2 separate regions of the Homo sapiens genome follow, and region 1 is linked to region 2. Evidence: promoter capture Hi-C in 16 types of primary human blood cells and fetal thymus (Javierre and others, 2016). All regions are on one chromosome and are shown on one strand. The core of a region is centred on a gene start or on the middle of the fragment in contact, and the rest is flanking DNA. Distances in the headings are between cores, read along the strand shown.

The links. Contacts are between HindIII fragments. The CHiCAGO score rates a contact against its expected background, and 5 or more counts as called.
Region 1: a fragment that was not itself captured here is called in contact with the fragment with the promoter of VTA1 in region 2 in 1 of 17 cell types (total CD8 T cells); the score reaches 7.2 in total CD8 T cells.

Annotation. Positions count from the first base shown.
Region 1 is chr6:139,379,411-139,383,942 of GRCh38, reverse strand. No RefSeq gene overlaps it. Among named protein-coding and RNA genes, the nearest start is that of CITED2, 7.0 kb to the right of the region's middle. The HindIII fragment of the contact is 6,226 bases long and covers 49-4,532 here.
Region 2 is chr6:142,144,419-142,148,670 of GRCh38, reverse strand. VTA1 (vesicle trafficking 1) reads right to left here and starts at 1,408. Exons shown (of 8, transcript NM_016485.5): 1 at 1,272-1,408. The coding sequence starts at 1,383. NMBR (neuromedin B receptor) reads left to right here and starts at 1,549. Exons shown (of 4, transcript NM_002511.4): 1 at 1,549-1,627. RefSeq lists enhancers at 707-1,227, 1,482-1,621, 1,385-1,679. The HindIII fragment of the contact is 1,973 bases long and covers 7-1,979 here.

The DNA of each region.
Region 1 (4,532 bases), core at 1,912-4,411, 2.8 Mb after region 2:
AGAGTTCACAGAAAACATTATGTTTTAGATAAATGTATAATAGAAGCTTGTTTTGTGGTGTTTATTTTAAATAATATTTATTACAAAGACTATAAAACAAATTATTTTTTGTTATAAAATACAATTATAAGATCTCTTTTCAATTAATTATAAGAAGTAAAGCACAGCTTGTTAACAAATTCAAAATTGACAATATATTCTCTGTGGATCTGAGACTAAATACATATTTAAACATATTGAAATACAACTACATATTATGACATTACAAATTGGCACGAAATATTTTCCTTTCCTGATGTTTTTAGTTTTTGACTTTTGTACATAAAAATCAACTGGGATTTTAAAAAATAATGTTTGTGCTTTGTTTGTAAGTAATGAGATCAGAGGAATAGTTTCAGGCTATTATTTGCAAACATACTTCCGTAATTATTACATACAGCAGCTGAATCTTTATTTCTAATAAATTGACAGACAATTTGAGTGTAGTCATCACTATGTTTTCTCTCTTTTGGATTCATTTTTTAGTCCTAGAGTTATGTAATTTGTACTATATAAAAGTTTTCATGATATGAATGCAACTTCTGGGTGAGATGAGCATCATCATAAGTTAGTTGTGAAATAATTATCACAATTCGGCTGGGCACCATGGTCATGCCTGTAATCTCAGTGCTTTGGGAGGCCAAGGTGAGAGGACCACTTGAGTCCAGGAGTTTAAGGTTACATGAGCTATGGCCACATCACTGCACTCCAGCCTGGACGTCACAGTGAGACCCTATCTCAAAAAAAAAATTATCACAATTATATTTCTCACAGGTTTATTTTATTCAGGACCATTAGTCTTCTATCTTTAAAAAAAAAAAAATCCGTATGTGTAAAAGAATTAAAAGCAACTTAAAGTTGTTAAATAGTGCAACAACCACTCTGACATGAGTATTTAGCTGAGAGAGTAACTACATTACTTAATGCTTGTCATCAGATGTCTACAACCAGCTCTGTGGGCTCACTCAGCACAACTCAGAGACTCTCAAACTTCCATCTTGCTGGGGTTTTTTTGTTTTGTTATTGTTTTGAGACAGGGTTTCGTTCTGTCATCCAGGCTGGAGTGCAGTGGCACAATCACAGCTCATGGCAGCCTCAAGCTCCTGGGCTCAAGTGATCCTCACGCCTCAGCCTCTCAAGTAGCTGGGATTACAAGTGTGTGCCACCATGTCTGGCTAAGTTTAAAATTTCTTTTTTTTTTTTTTTTTGAGATGGAATCTTGCTCTGTCACCAGGCTGGAGTGCAGTGACGTGATCTTGGCTCACTGCAACCTCCGCCTCCTGGATTCAAGTGATTCTCCTGCCTCAGCCTCCCAAGTAGCTGGGACCACAGGTGTGCGCCACCACGCCTGGCTAATTTTGTGTATTTTTAGTAGAGACCAGGTTTCACCATGTTAACCAGGATGGTCTCGATCTCCTGACCTTGTGATCCACCCGCCTCAGCCTCCCAAAGTTCTGAGATTACAGGTGTGAGCCACCGTGCCCAGCCTCAAATTTTTTTTTGTAGAAACAAAGTCTCTCCATGTTGCCCAGGATGGTCTCAAACTCCTGGGCTCAAGCCATCCTCTTGCCTCAGCCTCCCAAAGTGCTGGGATTAAAGACGTGAGCCACTGCACCCAGCCCCAAACTTCCATTTTGAACTGGAAAACTACTTTTAAATGATTTTAATTCCCACTGTTTTAAAAGTAGAAATTGATATAGATTCTATTACTGTCTTCTGCAATCCTATCCACCTATAATATAGAACATCAGCTGGGAAACGCTGATCTAAAAAACCACTCAACACATCTCTATTTCACTTCAGTGAAGTCTTCATAAAGACTTGGTCTGCTCCGATAATCCATACCAGTGTTTTTAAATCCTGATGGTTAGGAAGTCCTTTATGAGCAAGTCACTTAACCTCTCAGGACCTCAGATTTCTCATCTAGAAAAGGAAGGAGTTTGGATAAGATTATTTTTAAAAGTCCTACCCACACTAGAATTCTATGATTTTTATGTATTATCCAAAGCATTAGTTTTCATAACTGTTTAACATCAGAACAATATGTTTTTAAAACAAACAGAAACCCTTAATATATAAAGCACTTAAAAGTGAAGCTGAGAATACACAACATCTACAGAACACAAATTTGGAAACCACTGATCTAAAGCTCTCTTTTTAAAAACGCCTTCCTTTTTTCTTTGTCTCAGTGGAAAAGGAAAACATCTGGAAAGGATCCACCATATTAGTTTTCCTCTATGTAGACCAGAACATATGTATTAAGTCACCTGTCAGCTTTTTCTTCCCCAGATTAAATAGCCATTATAAGTCCCATTTCCCGTCCCTTTAAAAATATATTTCCTTTTTTTTTTTTCAATGAACTTTCTTTGGTTTTGGTAACTCTTTATTAAAAGGTAAAGTTGCAAACTAACCATGATCTCTCAGAAGAGCCCAGTGTAGCAAAAGGATTACTTCCAGCTCTGTCATGTGATTCTCACTCCTGATATACTCCGAGTTGTGTCCTTTTCAATAACAGCATTCCGTGGCTGCCTCTGATTCAACCAATAGCTTAGGAGGACCCGCAGTTTTGTTTTGGTTTGGTTTTTGGCTGAACTTGTTATATCTACTCAATAATTTCCCATCCAATACCCATGTAATTTGTTATTGTCCTCGTGAAGCCTCTGCAGTTTTTCTTATTGAACATAATCTTGTTTTTGATAGAGTGTTTTTCTAATTATTTAAGGTCACTGAATTTTTCTTCTGCTTTCCAACATACCTCATCCAACTTCAAAACCAATGTGAATGTTCTCTAGCTTATTGTTAAAGCTGCAGACTAAGAAAATGCCAATTATCTAAAAAAGAATCTATATGTGACGTGTGTTATATAGGCTGAATTGTACCCCCACCCAAATTCCTCTGCTGACAGCTAACTCCCGGTATCTAAGAATGTAACCATAACTAGAGATAAGGTCTTTAAAGAGGTGATTCAGTTAAAATGAGGACATTAGGGAGGGTCCTAATCCAATCTGACTGATGTCCTCATAAGAAGAGGAAATTTGGACACACGAAAGAGACACCAGGGTTTCCTGTGCACAGAGGAAAGACCATGTGAAGACACACCAGAAGCAGCCATCTGCAAGCCAAGGAGAGGGGTCCTGACACTTTGATCATGGACTTTCAGCCTCCACAACTATGAGGAAATACATTTCTGTTATTTAGGCCTCCCAGGCTGATATTTTGTTATGGCAGCCCTAGCAGCACTAGCAAACTTATACACATGCTCCTGGCTTATGATGGTTTCACAGATGATGTTTTCAACTTATAGAACGGGGTTTATCAGAGCATGACCCCATGGTAAGTCGAGAGGCATCTGTCGAAGGTTGACCTTATTCTGTGCACGACATTTTGCAGCCCCTTGGAGCTCACCTGGGAACCTCTGCCATCACAGAGAAGGTTACAGAAGAATACAAATACCCATAACTCAAGTCAGAATAGGTCAAAAAAGAAGATCTGAGTAAATTGCCCTGGAAGCACCAACGAGCCAGAATTCTTGCCATCTAGGGGATCAGGGGAGGCTAAAAAAGAGGAAATGTCATCTGAGCTGGGCCTTCAAAGACAGGCAAAATTCCAGTCATGGGCGGGAGGCGGAGAGGAAACGGGTGGCAGTCCAGGGAAACTGGACATTATGAGTGTGAACCAGGTTCACAGTACACCCATGAACCCTGTGAGAATGACCCCAGTTGTCATCAACCTATAAACAAGGTTGGCTGTTTGCAAACCTAGCTAAATATCAGAACCAACCGGGAGCTTTTAAAAAATATACAGCTCCTCAGGCCCCACTCCCAGCCTGATGAATCAAGAACTCCAGGAATGACATCCTAAAATATTTATTTTAATCAAATTCTCAAGCGGGATAGTACCAACTTCATCAATTTAAAGACCCTTTAATACAAACATTTCATTGACCTCTACGTGATAATGGCTATATTTCTCTTGAATGAAAAAATACCTAAAGACAGAAAAACTATTATGAGTTTGGTAATAATTTCAAGTGAATTTGTATTTTATGAGTTAGAACCAAGTTTACATGTTTAAAAGTGATATTCACATCTCAGTTTGACATATATACTACATGTAAGACATTATTCAGTTTGCAGATAACACCAGGTTGCATATAGGGCCTCTGTCACTATTAAATCATGTGTTAACAGACTCTCTGGCTACCTCTCTCCTCTTTTCCCTATTCCTCTCCTTCTGAGAAGGTGGCCATGTTTTTCATTGTTTTTATTTTTATTTTTAAAAGATTCTCTGAGACTCAAAGTCCTCCTTACTAAAGTGATGAAAGTAATCCCTACTCCTTACATTGAGGATTAAGTGAGCTTTGGGGTTTTGTTTCATTTTGTTGTTTTGTTTTTTGGGTTTTATTTTTTTTGAGACAAGGTCTTGCTCTGTCACCCAGGCTGGAGTGCAGTGGCACGACCTCGACCTCGACCTGCAGCCTTGACCTCCTGGGC
Region 2 (4,252 bases), core at 159-2,658:
TAAGCTTTTAATACTCTATGTATGATAGACTCTATATTGTTGAAACTCTCTACCTCCATTGTATGTAAGCTCCAAAAATGCAGCAAATGTAGTCACAGCGCCTACTAATGCTTGATACAAAGGTAGCTCAATGAACACATACTGAATGAATATGGACCCTGCTTGAGGAAACTGAAGAACAAGTATAATAAAAATGATGCTGTAAAATTTGAACAAAATGAAGTAATGCACAGAGAATAATCAATTTGCTGCCCACAGAAGTGGTGACATTTGGGTTAGATCTTGAATCATGAGTTTGCCAAGTGCAAGAAAAAGGTGCACATTCCAAGAGAGTGGAAGATGGTAGGTCTGAAAAGGCCTTGCACATTTGAGAAACAGGGTACATTTGGAGTATGGCAGAGATAACAGTGACCAGATTTTAGCTAACCTTACAATATACACAACAATGGACGCATTATATCCAACTTCTCAACTCTAAATATCCTTTTCAGAATTATAATTGTCCAGTTACTTGTTTTATTTGCAGTAAAGTTAAGAGTACAGAATACAAAATAAAGTTAACACAGAATTACTGGCACTCCCTTTACTCACTACAAGTTTGAGCAGAGTTAACCTATATTTTTTTTAATCAAACTGTAAATTCAACGTATAACACTCAAAGTGAAAATACTGCTTTCAAAGGTCTCAACAGCGGGTATTATTCAAAGAAGTCAAAACTAAAAATTCTGCATGGTAGGAGAGAGCAGCTGGGTGGGGAAAGGTCAAATTCAACTGCTTATTTAGTAGCAGATACTCCCCATTTAACCAAATGAGTTTCTGATTGGGCTTGCATGCTGTCATAAATAATATTCACTTATTACTATGTTTTCAACTAGTCTATCGTCCTTTTATCCACATCACTCCTTCTTTCGGACACTCACCTTCGTTTTAAACCTAACTCAATTTATTTTCAGGATTCCTATTTGAGACAAGAAGCTCTTGTGTGTACACACACAGAGAAAACCTTGGAAGATTATATTCCACAGTTCAAGAGCCTGTGTAGTCAGTACTGGAGCATTTAAGCACAAGATAGGAGAAGCAGTGGACACCATGGTGTTTTGGGATTCCTACTGCCAGGGGGTGGGAACCCAGGGAGTTCCCTGGGTAGGCTCGAGGTCAAAGCTCAGGTTTAAAGCGAGGGGGGCGGGGCATGCCCCAAGAACCTCAGGGAGGTGTGTGGGCCCTAAAATGCAACTGGGAAAGAAAGGGCGCGGCCACTCGGAAAGACTCACAGTAATAAGCCACCACAGGGTCTCGCTTGTCATGCTCCTGAGCCGTCCTCAGATGATGCTGTATGCTCTTGAACTGTGCGGGGAGCGGGGGCAGCGGTGCAAGCGCGGCCATCTCTACTCCGAACTCACCACTTCCTACTCGCGCTCCACCGGCACTTCCGCTTCCGTCTGGGCGGTAGCGCGCACGAGCGTTCAGAGCAAATGCTGCCCACTCTTCCGTTGCTCAGCGACGTCAAGTCAACTACGGATCCCCAGCTGGGACAACCTCAGGGTGCTTGGCTCTCGGCGGTTAGAACCCACAGAAGACCCGAGCATTTTGGCGCTTATGCCGCGCATGGCGCTAGCGCTCTCTGCTGGTAGGAGGAAGGGTTTTTGTTTTGTTTTGCTTTTTTGTTTGGTTTGTTGTTTGTGGCAAAAGGAAGGATAGAAAAGGAAAAACAAGAAAATAATGTATGTTGACTGGGAGAAAGTATAAAGGCGAGAATTGCCTTTGGCGTCATTCAGGAATTACCACTTCCAGTTAATATGCCACATTAATATTCCATATAGCAGTGTCCTTTAGAAGCCTTTTTGATTTTAGAAACTTTAATTTCAATACTTGCATGAGAGAGAAATAATGTGTTTAAATTGTAAATTAAATTTTTCTATGTTGACATACTGGATAAAATAATCAGATTTCGCGCCAAATTAAGCTAAACATATGAAGCTTAAAGAAGATTGAACTTTTGTTCTCAGCTGGCTAGTACGTATTTTAGTGAATGAATAATCTGTAGATCACCTTTTTTTTTTCTGGAGAGTGATTAACAATTTGTAAAGTATTTTCATATTTATTATCTTGTCTTAATGTAAGATAGGGTGTTTGGGACGTTTTCAACGCTGGTAACTCTTAACCATTGTACAGTAGGCATCACTTTTCCTTCTACCCTCAATGACTTCAATTCTCTTCCTCTCCTCTCCATCCCTTACTTATATCTTTCAGGACTGTACACTTTATTTACTTCCTCCAATAACCTTCTTTATTTTATCTCAGTCCTCAGTTTTGACAATTCATCTTAAAACTAGTTTTCACTGAAATCACACTATCCCCAAGAGCCAAAATCTCCAGCTCGGAAATTCCCCTCTGCCTACTATTTTCTGATCACTCTCTCACCCCCAGAAGAAACCGCTCCATGTCCTCATATTATCCCACTCCACATACGTTGCCTAGACCTATTTGCAAAGTCCATCATCTTATTCTGGGTCGGGCTTTTTTACTCAGCCTGAAACTCAGTTCTGTCTTCTTCCCCAATCTCAGCGGCATATTTCCTACCACTGGAGAATGTATGGTTTCTTTCTCTTTCTCTTACTCCCACTATTTGGACTTTCCAGTCAAAAGTTGCTAGATTGGTAGAGAAATCAATGAAGAAAAGCAGAGTTGGATAACCATAACTGTTTTCTTTCTATACTCACAACTTTTCATTTATTTGTTTCCTATTACTTCTTGATTCTCAACCGCAGCTGCCCTTAAAGATCAACTTTAAAGCCCACTCCAGGCATTCTCACTTAATTGTTCTAGGTGGGATCCTAAATGTCAGTATCTTTAAAAGGTCCTCATGTAATTTTAATGTTACGTCTAGGGTTAAGGACCAGTGCTGTAGTCCACAGATGGTGTTTCAAACTTCTCTCGCTCTATTCAAGCTAGGCACTCAGCCCCAATTTCCTTGGTCTACAACAGCATTTCCTGCTATTGAGATTAAGGCCACCACCAGATATGAATTATTTTGCCTTGCCTCTACCACAACTTAAAGTAATAATAACTAGCTAGCAGCATTTGCTGAGCATCAACTATGTATCATGCATGTTTCTAGGGTCTTTATATTAATTTATTTAATTTGCACCACAACCCTATGAGGAACATATCATTATTATTTTACAGATGAGAAAAATAAGACACATAGAATCTAGATAACTTGCACTAGGTCACAGCCAGGAAGGATGAGTATTCCACATTAAAATCTAGGTATTTTGGTTTCAGAGCCTGTGCACCTAGCCATTACTACTTGACTATGATGTCTTTCTAGATCTTATGTTTTATCTTTTCTCTATTCCATCATCTTATGTCTGAGAAACAAATGTTCCTCTTCCTGGTAGAAGGCTGCACCCTCCTGTTACTCTCCTGATCTCCCCCTTCAGAAGTGAATTTTGCCACTCTTTCTCATTTGCATACATTCATGTGTACTCTTATTTGCATACCCTCATGAGCAGGACTGAGGGAAAAATAAGAAAGTGAAATGGTTGGAGTTGGATTTTACTCTCTGATCTGCCAACACATGCTCTTTTCTTTTCTTTCTTTTCTCCTTCCTTCCTTCTTTTTTTCTTTCTTTTTTTTTTTTTTTTTTTAGACAGGTTCTCACTCTGTCACCTAAGCTGGAGTGCAGCACACTATCAGAGCTCGCTGCAGTCTTGGACTCCTGGGCTCAAGGATCTTCTTGCCTCAGCCTCCTGAGTAACTGGGACCACAGGCACATAACACTATGGCTAATTATTATTATTTTGTTGCCTAGGCAGGTCTTGAACTCTTAGTCTCAAGTGATACTCCTGCCTCGGCCTCCCAAAGTGCTGAGATTACAGACAAGAGCCTCATGCTCTCTTCTTTCTAAATATGCTAACCCTTTCATGAGATGATAATTGATTTGATGGAGAACAGTACAGAGACAGTGTTAGTGTAACACACATTGAAATTATGCTATAAAACAAATATTAATGACTGTGAGGTTGCTTTTTCTTGTTTTACTATGATATTTTACTAGAAAGACCTACATTCTTCTTCTCCATTCATCTCAGACCAGTTTCTGAAGGATCTGACATCACCCTCTAGGACTGGGCTAGAACCTTGGCAAGTAAGGGGAGGGCAGAGCTGTAGAACAAAATAGGGGGTGAGGGCAACCATAGGAAGAAGAAAATGGAGAGAAACTAGAGCTGACAGGTGTTTTGATGGGAAA